Linked DNA regions of Homo sapiens: all the other regions are linked to region 3. The links are contacts of gene promoters, found by promoter capture Hi-C in human tissues and cell types (Jung and others, 2019). All regions are on one chromosome and are shown on one strand. The core of a region is centred on a gene start or on the middle of the fragment in contact, and the rest is flanking DNA. Distances in the headings are between cores, read along the strand shown.

What was found. Contacts are between HindIII fragments. The study calls those that stand out against the background at their distance.
Region 1: a fragment that was not itself captured here is called in contact with the fragment with the promoter of UPF1 in region 3 in 2 of the 25 tissues and cell types used here (aorta and dorsolateral prefrontal cortex).
Region 2: a contact is called between a fragment that was not itself captured here and the fragment with the promoter of UPF1 in region 3, in 1 of the 25 tissues and cell types used here (dorsolateral prefrontal cortex).
Region 4: a fragment that was not itself captured here is called in contact with the fragment with the promoter of UPF1 in region 3 in 2 of the 25 tissues and cell types used here (dorsolateral prefrontal cortex and lymphoblastoid cells).

Annotation. Positions count from the first base shown.
Region 1 is chr19:18,666,855-18,669,794 of GRCh38, forward strand. It overlaps KLHL26 (kelch like family member 26), which reads left to right. Exons shown (of 3, transcript NM_018316.3): 3 at 810-2,940. The coding sequence ends at 2,391. Among named protein-coding and RNA genes, the nearest start is that of CRTC1, 15 kb to the right of the region's middle. The HindIII fragment of the contact is 7,470 bases long and covers 1-2,940 here.
Region 2 is chr19:18,958,894-18,961,676 of GRCh38, forward strand. No RefSeq gene overlaps it. Among named protein-coding and RNA genes, the nearest start is that of HOMER3, 19 kb to the left of the region's middle. The HindIII fragment of the contact is 4,315 bases long and covers 1-2,783 here.
Region 3 is chr19:18,830,564-18,833,344 of GRCh38, forward strand. UPF1 (UPF1 RNA helicase and ATPase) reads left to right here and starts at 1,396. Exons shown (of 24, transcript NM_002911.4): 1 at 1,396-1,877. The coding sequence starts at 1,647. RefSeq lists silencers at 1,200-1,459, 1,580-1,679, 1,830-1,919, 1,930-2,009. The HindIII fragment of the contact is 23,837 bases long and covers 1-2,781 here.
Region 4 is chr19:19,038,334-19,041,033 of GRCh38, forward strand. The region is part of intron 2 of ARMC6 (armadillo repeat containing 6); the gene reads left to right. Among named protein-coding and RNA genes, the nearest start is that of ARMC6, 6.1 kb to the left of the region's middle. The HindIII fragment of the contact is 5,677 bases long and covers 1-2,700 here.

The sequences.
Region 1 (2,940 bases), core at 294-2,793, 160 kb before region 3:
CATGGCACCTCCAGAGCACTGGCCTTGCAGTTCCTGAGCTCAGGTGTCAAGTGGGGCTGCAGATCTGTCCCCAGAGCCACAGGGTGTGTTCTCATCCTGCACTGCCATACCTGGCCCCTCTAACCGCACCCCCGACAGGCACATTGTGGGTGAGGCTGACCCGGGCCACCGCTCCTGCAGCTCCAACACGATCTAGTCATGAAGGGGCAGGGGCAGGGTCCTCTGCAGAGGGGCCAAGCAGGGAGTTGCTATTTATAGGAAGATGCATGGCTTGGGTGGATTCAAAATCTTTTTTTTTTTTTGCATGTTTTTTTTGTTTGTTTGAGACAGAGTCTCACTCTTATTGTCCAGGCTGCAGTGCAGCATGATCTCGGCTCACTGCAACCTCCAGGTTGGTCTTGAACTCCTGACATCAGGTGATCCACCCACCTCGGCCTCCCAAAGTGCTAGGATTACAGGCGTGAGCCACTGTGCCTGGCCTTTGCATGTTTTTGTTTGTTTGTTTGTTTGTTTGTTTTTGTGACTGAGTCTCACTCTGTCACCCAGGCTGGAGTGCAGTGCCAGTGGTCTCGATCTCCTGATCTCATGATCCACCCGCCTGGGCTTCCCAAAGTGCTGGGATTACAGGCATGAGCCACCGCGCCCGGCCCCTTTGCATGTTTTTAATGAGCATTCCGCCTACTTTCCTCTTGCTGGCTGTGCCCTGTGTTCTGTGTCCCCAGGCTACTGTTCCCCAGGCCAGATCATTCCTGGCTGGCCAAAACACCCCTCAGCCACTGCCAGCCACACGTTGTGTTTCTGCCCTTCAGGGCCATGTTCACCGGCGGCATGCGGGAGGCAAGCCAGGACGTCATCGAGCTGAAGGGCGTGTCGGCCCGTGGCCTGCGGCACATCATCGACTTCGCCTACAGCGCCGAGGTGACACTGGACCTGGACTGCGTGCAGGACGTGCTGGGCGCGGCCGTGTTCTTGCAGATGCTGCCCGTGGTGGAGCTGTGCGAGGAGTTCCTGAAGGCGGCCATGAGCGTGGAGACCTGCCTCAACATCGGCCAGATGGCCACCACCTTCAGCCTGGCCTCGCTGCGAGAGTCGGTGGATGCCTTCACCTTCCGGCACTTCCTGCAGATCGCCGAGGAGGAGGATTTCCTGCGCCTGCCACTGGAGCGCCTGGTCTTCTTCCTGCAGAGCAACCGGCTGCAGAGCTGTGCCGAGATCGACCTGTTCCGCGCGGCCGTCCGCTGGCTGCAGCATGACCCGGCCCGGCGGCCGCGCGCCAGCCACGTGCTCTGCCACATTCGCTTCCCGCTCATGCAGTCGTCCGAGCTGGTGGACAGCGTGCAGACGCTGGACATCATGGTGGAGGACGTGCTGTGCCGCCAGTATCTGCTGGAGGCCTTCAACTACCAGGTGCTGCCCTTCCGGCAGCACGAGATGCAGTCTCCGCGCACCGCCGTGCGCTCGGATGTGCCCTCGCTCGTCACCTTCGGCGGCACGCCCTACACCGACAGCGACCGCTCGGTCAGCAGCAAGGTCTACCAGCTGCCTGAGCCGGGAGCCCGCCACTTCCGCGAGCTCACGGAGATGGAGGTAGGCTGCAGCCACACGTGCGTGGCCGTGCTGGACAATTTTGTGTACGTGGCCGGGGGGCAGCACCTGCAGTACCGCAGCGGCGAGGGCGCAGTGGACGCCTGCTACCGCTACGACCCCCACCTGAATCGCTGGCTGCGCCTGCAGGCCATGCAGGAAAGCCGCATCCAGTTCCAGCTGAACGTGCTGTGCGGCATGGTGTACGCCACGGGCGGCCGCAACCGAGCCGGCAGCCTGGCCTCCGTGGAGCGGTACTGCCCCCGGCGCAATGAGTGGGGCTACGCCTGCTCGCTGAAGCGCCGTACCTGGGGCCATGCTGGGGCCGCCTCAGGGGGCCGCCTCTACATCTCGGGTGGCTACGGGATCTCAGTGGAGGACAAGAAGGCCCTGCACTGCTACGACCCCGTGGCCGACCAGTGGGAGTTCAAGGCGCCCATGAGCGAACCCCGCGTGCTACACGCCATGGTGGGTGCCGGCGGCCGCATCTATGCCCTCGGGGGCCGCATGGACCACGTGGACCGCTGCTTCGACGTGCTGGCTGTGGAGTACTATGTGCCGGAGACGGACCAGTGGACCAGCGTGAGCCCCATGCGGGCCGGCCAGTCAGAGGCCGGCTGCTGCCTGCTGGAGAGGAAGATCTACATCGTCGGGGGCTACAACTGGCGTCTCAACAACGTCACGGGCATCGTACAGGTGTACAACACGGACACCGACGAGTGGGAGCGGGACCTGCACTTCCCGGAGTCCTTCGCAGGCATAGCCTGCGCCCCCGTCCTGCTGCCCCGGGCCGGGACCAGGAGGTAGCCCCCAAGACCCCCGGGACCCTGGCCTGACCGCATGTTGTCTCCAAGTGGGGCTTGGCGAATGCACGTCTGCCTGAGAACCCCAGTGCCCCCCTTCGCCCGGGCTGCCCTTGAGGGGCCTGCTGCGTTGATAAGCCCCCCTCCCAGGGGTCCCTCCCTCCCTCCTTCCCAAAGCAGATCCTGGCTGCGAGTCCATCCGAGGGAGCCTGCCGGCAAAGCGTCTGACATGTGGTGGCAGCAAATTCGTCCCCGGGGTGGTTTCCTCGCCTGGCCCCCGAGTCCCCACGGGCTGGCGGGTGGAATCCCAGGTCTCCAGGGGGTCCCTGTGCAGCTCCATCTCACTTCTCTACTGCCTCCCAGCCCCACGGTTTCAGGCATTCAGATGTGAGCTCATCAACATTGAACCCAAAGTCGGTGGTATATGACTCACCCTCCTTCCAAGTCTCCTGCGCGCGTGTTTTTAAAATAAACTCACCCGAAACGTCCGTAACACACGGACCTCCAGGAGCAGTGAGAGGTGGCTTAGAAGCCCCTGGTTTGGGGTGGGTGG
Region 2 (2,783 bases), core at 280-2,779, 130 kb after region 3:
TCGTAGGTGACAGAATGGAGGTCCCTGTCTGAGGGAGGGACCGCTGAGCCTCAAGTGAGTAGGCTACAAGGCTGGCAGGGAGGTCACCCCATCCTATGGCCTAAGATTGTCCCCAAACATAAAGCTTGAACCCTGAGGCCCCTTGATTGGTTTCCTTGGTCCTTGGCCAGCATTTAAACTCTCCTTTTTTTAAATTTCTTGAGACAGTTTCTCACTCCGTCACCCAGGCTAGAGTGCAGGGCACAATCTCGGCTCACTGCAACCTCTGCCTGTTGGGTTCAAGTGATTCTCCTGTCTCAGCCCCCATGAGTAGCTGGGGCTACAGACATGCGCCACCATGCCCTGCTAATTTTTGTATTTTTAGTAGTAACAGGGTTTCACCATGTTGATCAGGCTGGTCTTGAACTCCTGACCTCAAGTGATCCACCTGCCTCGGCCTCTCAAAGGTGCTGGGATTACAAGGGTGAGCCACCGTGCCCAGCCTACACTCTCTTGACAAAGGTTTTTATAAATCCCAATTTGGCTGGGTGCCGTGGCTCATGCTTGTAATCCCAGTACTTTGGGAGGCTGGGGCCAGGGGATCACTTGAGCCCAGGAGATTGAGACCAGTCTGGGGCAACATGGCAAAACCCATCTCTACAAAAAATAAAATAAAATTAGCCAGGCATGGTGGTGCATGCCTGTGGTCCAAGCTTCTTAGGAGGCTGATGTGGGAGGATCGCTTGAGCCCAGGAATTAGAGGCTGCAGTGAGCCATGATTGTGCCACTGTACTCCAGCCTGGGTGACACAGTGAGACCCTGTCTCGGAAAATAAATAAATAAAAGACTGTCTGGGCCAGGTGCCGAGGCTCACGCCTGTAATCCCAGCACTTTGGGAGGCTGAGGCGGGCAGATTGCTTGAGCCTGGTAGTTTGAGACCAGACTGGCCATCATAGTGAAATCCCATCTCTACTAAAAATAAAAAAATTAGTTGGGTGTGGTGGCGCACACCGATAGTCCCAGCTACTTGGGAGACTAAGGTGGGAGAATCACTTGAGCCTGGGATCAAGGCTGCAGTGAGCCGTGATCAACCTCTGCACTCCAGCCTGTGTGACAGAGTGAGGCTCTGTTTCAAAACACCACCAATGACAAGAAAACCCATGACCGTCCGGGCGCGGTGGCTCGTGCCTGTAATCCCAGCACTTTGTGAGGCCGAGGTGGATGGATCCTGAGATCAGGGGTTTGAGACCAGCCTGGCCAACATGGTGAAACCCCATCACCACTAAAGATACAAAAAATTAGTCGGGCGTGGTGGCACGTACCTGAAATCCCAGCTACGTAGGAGGCTGAGGTAGGAGAATCGCTTGAACCCGGGAGGTGGAGGTTGCAGTGAGCCGAGATCGTGCCATTGCACTCTAGTCTGGGCAACAGAGCAAGACTCCGTCTCAAAAAAAAAAAAAAAAAGAAAATCCATGAGCACTCAGACCTGCAGCCAGTGAAGGCAAGGTAGAGATGGGACCCCACCCTTCAGCCTGTGTCTTACATTTTTAGGGGGCTAATTTAATTTAGAATGTCCAGCAGGGAAGTGTGTCTAGCTGTCCAGTGAGGGGAGCCTCAAGCTATCTTCCCACCTCAGCCTCCCAAACCACTGGGATTACAGGCATGAGTCACTGTACCTGGCCTGAAGGTCCCTTTTACAGATAAGAAAACTGAGGTTCAGGGCCGGCTTCTGCCCCTGCCCAACCTGCTGGCTTCTTCCTCAGCCAGCCCTCTCCAACTACTGCCTATTTCTTTTTTTCTTTCTTTCTCTTTTTTTGAGACGGAGTCTCGCTCTGTCAACAAGGCTGGAGTGCAATGGCATGATCTCGGCTTACTGCAACCTCTGCCTCCCAGGTTCAAGTGATTCTCCTGCCTCAGCCTCCTGAGTAGCTGGGATTACAGGCATGCACCACCATGCCCGCATAATTTTTTTTTTTTTTTTTTTTTGAGACGGAGTCTCGCTCTGTCTCCCAAGCTGGAGTGCAGTGGCGCGATCTCGGCTCACTGCAAGCTCCGCCTCCCGGGTTCACGCCATTCTCCTGCCTCAGCCTCCCGAGTAGCTGGGGCTACAGGCGCCCGCCACCACACCGGGCTAATTTTGTTTTTGTATTTTTAGTAGAGACGGGGTTTCACCGTGTTAGCCAGGATGGTCTTGATCTCCTGACCTCGTGATCCGCCCGCCTTGGCCTCCCAAAGTGCTGGGATTACAGGCGTGAGCCACAGCGCCCGGCTCTTTTTTTTTTTTTTTTTGAGACAGAGTCTCACTGTTGCCCAGGCTGGAGTGCAGTTGCGCCATCTCGGCTCACTGCAACCTCCGCCTCCTGAGTTCAAGCGATTCTCCTGCCTTGGCCTCCCTAGTAGGTGGGATTACAGGCGTGCACAACCATGCCCTGTTAATGTTTGTATTTTTAGTAGAGACGGGATTTCACCATGTTGGCCAGGCTGGTCTCGAACTCCTGACCTCAGGTGATCCACCCGCCTCAGCCTCCCAAAGTGTTGGAATTACAAGTGTGAGCCATCATGGCCAGCCACTACTGCCTATTTCTGCATCTCCTGTTCCAGACAAACGGAAGAAACAAGGCCATTTATTGAGCGCCGGTGATATGCTGAGCGCTCAACCTGCATCCTCAAAGATCGTCGATCCAACAGCCTGCTAGGAGTGGATCAATCGAGTCACAGAGGGGGCTCGACCCCCACTCACTGTAGAGAGGGGAAAGCTGAGGTTCAGAGGTGAAACGATACTCCCGGGGTCACACGGCAAGGAC
Region 3 (2,781 bases), core at 146-2,645:
CACCGCAGCCTCAAACTCCTGAGCTCAAGTGATTCTCTTGCCTCTACCTCCTAAAGTGCTGGGATTTCAGGAAAGAGCCACCTTGCCCAGGCTTCCTATGCCACCTTAATGGCAACAGAAACCCTAGGCTCAGAGAGGTTAAGTCACTTGTATAATTTCACACAGCTGGTAAGTGGTCAGGTCTAGAGTCCACCACAGACCATGTGCTTCCAGTTGTTTTGCTGTATACGTCCACTAAATAATAATCATAGCAAAAATAGTAATGGTATAATAACAGTGGCAGAGGCATCAGGAACAGCAGCAACCATCATTTCCAAGTGCCAGGCCCAGTACGTAAGACTATCCCCATTCATTTATTTTTACTTATTTTTGAGACAGGGTCTCGCTCTGTCACCCAGGCTGGAGTGCAGTGGTGCAATCTCGGCTTACTGCAGCCTCAACTTCCCAGGGTCAAGCGATCCTCCCACCTCAGCCTCCCTAGTAGCTGGGACTACAGGTGCGAACCACCACGCTTAGCTAATTTTTTTTTTTTTTTTTGAGACAGAGTCTCACTCTGTTGCCCAGGCTGGTGTGCAGTGGCACAATCTTGGCTCACTGCAACCTCCGCCTCCTGGGTTCAAGCGATTCTCCTGCCTCAGCCTCCTGAGTAGCTGGGACTACAGGCTCGTGCCACCACGCCTGGCTAATTTTTTGTATTTTTAGTGGAGACGGGGTTTCACCATGTTAGCCAGGATGGTCTCGATCTCCTGACGTCATGATCCACCCGCCTCGGCCTCCCAAAGTGCTGGGATTACAGGCGTGAGCCACCGCGCTCGGCCTAATTTTTATATTTTTTGTAGAGATGGAGTCTCACTCTGTCTCCCAGGCTGGTCTCGAACTCCTGAGTTCAAGCAGTTCTCCCGCCTCAGCCTCTGAGTGTTGGGATTACAGGTGTGACCACCGCGCCGAGCCCCACTCCCTTTTTAAACCAATGCACAGGGAGCATCTACTATGTGCGAGGCACCCTCCATTTTACAGATGGGGAAACTGAGTTCCAAGCAGCTTTTGCCAGGAGTGGGAGCGCACCGTCCCTGCCCAGTCTCTCCAGTTGGGCGTTCCGAGACCACCTATGTAGGGTATTCGGCTAGCGCTCAATTAAACCGAAACACCGTCGCAGCGACCACAGGTGCAGACCACCAAGTCCACACCGCCAGCCGCCCGGGCGTCCCCAATTAGCAGTTGGGGCGGGACCAAGTCCTCGAGCTGCCGCCGCAGCGGCGGTTGAAAGCCCCACCCCCTGCGCGTGCGCGGTGCGCGTCCCGTCTTCCTGCTGGGCACCAGGCGCCCGCGAAGAGCGCGCGCGCTTCCGCCGGCGTCGGGCTCGCGCACGCGCACGGCGACGGCGGCGGTGGCGGCAGTTCCTGCTCTAGGCTGCGAGCGGCTGGCGGCTTCGAGGGGAGCTGAGGCGCGGAGGGGCTCGGCGGCAGCGGCGGCGGCTCGGCACTGTTACCTCTCGGTCCGGCTGGCGCCGGGGCGCGCGGTTTGGTCCTTTCCGGGCGCGCGGGGGCGACAGCGGCAGCGACCCGAGGCCTGCGGCCTAGGCCTCAGCGCGGCGGCGGGCTCGAGTGCAGCGCGGAACCGGCCCGAGGGCCCTACCCGGAGGCACCATGAGCGTGGAGGCGTACGGGCCCAGCTCGCAGACTCTCACTTTCCTGGACACGGAGGAGGCCGAGCTGCTTGGCGCCGACACACAGGGCTCCGAGTTCGAGTTCACCGACTTTACTCTTCCTAGCCAGACGCAGACGCCCCCCGGCGGCCCCGGCGGCCCGGGCGGTGGCGGCGCGGGAGGCCCGGGCGGCGCGGGCGCGGGCGCTGCGGCGGGACAGCTCGACGCGCAGGTGAGCGGCACATGGCGGTGCCGGAAGCCCGGGCCCGGCCTCGGCGCCTGAGACCTGCCCCGAACTCGCCTCGGGCCCGGCCTGTGTTTGGCCGGAGTCCCCCATCGCGGCCGGGCCTGGGGCGATCTGCCCCGGGTCCCCTACTCTGGCTCGGCCTGAGCTTACCTGCCCCAGGTCCTGCAATCTGCCCGGGCCTGGCCTGATCTGCCCCGGGTCCCCCGCTCCGGCCGCGACCTGGCTGAGTTCCTTCGGCCCCCAACTCCTGGGCCGGGCAGACTTGCCTCGAGTCCTCCACTTCGTTCGGGACCGAGCTAACCTGACCCTGTTCCTTTACGCCAGCTGGGTTTGCTCCCCCTCCTGGGCCCGGGCTGACCTGCCTTGTGTCCCACAATCAGTCTGGCCTGGAGTAACCTGCCCCCTGACTTATCTGAGTTCTTCCATTCCATCCGGGCTAGGGTGACCTGCCCTGGTCCCTCTTTCGCAGGTCTCGGTATTCTGCCTCGAGTTCTCCTACGACCTGGGCCGGGTCTTGCTCAGGCCGGAGCTTGAGTGACTTCCCTCAGTCCCTTTCCGGGAGTATCCAGGGTGACCTGCCCTAATCCTGTCTCTGGCCTGGTCCGGGGGTCCTGCCCGGTCTCCCCATTGGTGGGTCTGGCCGCCTGTCCCACCTCCCATCTGTGGTCGCAGCCATCTGGGCACCCCACCTTTCACAGTCACGGAGCGTAGGTTCGACTTTCCCCATGCATAGGGGCGCTGGCCAGCGGAAGGTTGAGGCAGAGAAGAATTTTTGCCTCCCATGGAGGAGCACATATTGGCTGGCTATTAAGATCATTCAGGAAGCAGGTTGTATTTTGTTTTTTCTTGCATCGCCTGTTGCTGAAACCGACCTGTTACATAACTTCAC
Region 4 (2,700 bases), core at 128-2,627, 210 kb after region 3:
GGAAAAATTGTCTTCCACGAAACTGGTCCCTTAGGCTAAAAAGGTTGGGACTGCTGAGCTACAGGTTTGAAACAGAATTGCAAAGGGATTTGGTGTTTTTACCAAGAGTTTTATCTTACTTAACTCTATGTCTTGTTCCCACCTGTCAGAGTGGAAGGTACTGCCCAAGGTTAGTGGGTCATCTAAGTGTTGATACCTACCCCTGGTTTCCAGGGTATGCCTATACTGGGTTTTACTTGTTTGTTTATTTATTTATTTTTTGAGACGAAGTCTTGCTCTTGTTGCCCAGGCTGGAGTGCGATGGCGTGATCTTGTCTCACTGCAACCTCCACCTCCCTGGTTCAAGCCATTCTCCTGCCTCAGCCTCCCGAGTAGCTGGGATTACAGGCGCCCCACTAATTTTTGTATATTTAGTAGAGACGGGGTTTCGCCATGTTGGTCTTGAACTCCTGACCTCAGGTGATCTGCCTGCCTTGGCCTCCCAAAGTGCTGGTATTACAGGCATGAGCCACCATGCCTGGCCTTACTTGCTTATTTTTATTTTATAAGGTGGGTTTGTGTGTATACACACACACACACACACACACACACACATTTTTTTTAAGAGATATGGTCTCACTGTGTTGCCGCAGGCTGGTCTCAAACTCCTGTGCTTGAGTGATCCCCCCGCCTTAGCCTCCCAAGTTGCTGAGATTACAGGCACAAGTCATTGCTCAGTTCTTTTTGTTTTTAAACAGATTAGCACTTTAAGAAATTGAGCTATAATTTACATACCATAATATTCACTCATTTGATTTAGTAATTTTTTTTTTTCTTCTGGAGACATGGTCTCCCTCTGTCATCCAGACCGGAGTGCAGTGGCCCAGTCACAGCTCACTGCAGCCTTGAACTCCTGGGCTCAAATGATCCTCCTGCTTCAGCCTCCCGAGTAACTTCAACCACACGCAAATGCCACCACACCTGACTATATTTTTAAATTTTTTTGTAGAGACGGGGCCTTACTATGTTGTCCTTGCTGGTCTCAAACTCCAGACTTGAAACAGTCCTCCCACCTTGGCCTCCTAAAGCACTGGGATCACAGGTGTGAGCCACCATGCCTGGCCTGATGTAGTGATTTTACGTTTTCACAGAGTTGTACAACCATCATCACTATAATTCAAGAACGTTTTCATCACCCAGAAGGAAACCCTATACCCATTAGAAGTTACTCCCCATTCCCTCTCCTCCAGTCCCTGGCAACACCCAGTCTGCTTTTTGTGTCTGTGGATTTGCCTGTTCTGGATATTTCATGTCATTGGAATCGTGCAATATGAGGCTTTTCGTGTCTGGCTTCTTTGACGAGACATCATGTTTTTGAGGTCTATCTCCATTGTAGCATGCTTCAGCACCTCATTCCTTTCTCTGGCTGAGTAATATACCACCATGCGCACAGACCATTTTATCCATTCATCTGTTGGTAGACTCCGTCTCCTTTTCTTTGTTCTTGTGATTTATTTGTTGAAAACTCTGGGTGTTTGTCCTCTAGTTGACATTCTCTTCCCTAGTAGGGATTTTGCAGATCACATCCCCATGGTGTTGGTTAAGGTGTCAGAGCTGTGCTGTGCAATACCATAGTCACTCGTCACACATGGCTATTTACATTAACAAATTAAAATGAAATAAAATTACACACTCAGTTCCTCAGCCACACTGCCACACTTCAGCTGTGTGATAGCCACAGAGGCCAATGGCTTCTGTACTAGGCAGTGCAGATAGAGAACGTTTCATCATAGCAGGAAGTGCCCTGAATGCATGATCAGATTCGGGTTTGAGATTTTGGCACGATGACTTCACAGGTGCATTTTGTTCTTGTTCAGGAGGTAGGTGTTGCTGGTTTCTCTTGATGATGTGAGATCAAGCAGTAGACTGAGTTCCTGTCTACCCCTTGTTGGGCTCCCATCAGTTTTACACCTGATGGTTTTGGATCCTGTGGGATCATTATCTGTTTCTCTCCTGTCACAGCTGATCAGCTGGAATCGGAAGCAGAACTTTTCCTCATCCTCTTTTTATAACCTGGGACTCATTTGTACAAGGGAGGCAGGTTAAGTGCTAGGTTTTTTTTAAAAAAATTGTTACTAATTATTGTAGAGACAGTGTCTCGCTACGTTGGCCAGGCTGGTCTTGAACTCCTGGATTCAAGTGATCCTCCCATCTCAGCCTCCTGAGTAGTAGCTGGGAGTACAAGAGCATGCCACCACTCCCTGCCAAGAGCTGGATTCTTGGCCAGTTTTCAGAAGCCTGAGCTGTATTTGTTTTAGTATTATGAAAGCACAGAGTTTGACTTTTTTTTTTTTTTGCAACATCGTCTGACTGTCAGCCAGGCTGGAGTGCAATGGCATGATCTCGGCTCACTGCAACCTCCGCCTCTGTGCTCAAGTGGTTCTCCTACCTCGGTCTCCCTGATTGCTGGGATTACAGACGTGAGCCACCACACCTGGCCCAGATTTTGATTTTGATATGTACTGGATTTTTTTTTAATGCTCACTTGTCTCATCTGTAGCTACCAGGCATCCCTTAGGGTTTGGAAGCTTCCTTGCTTCCTGGTCTCACAAGACCCCAGCGTTACCTGCCCCATGACCTGCTGGGACTTGGAATCAGCCATTCCTCCAGAAGCCCTGGCTCCTTGTTTTTAAAGATTTTATGTAGAGACAGGGCCTCCCC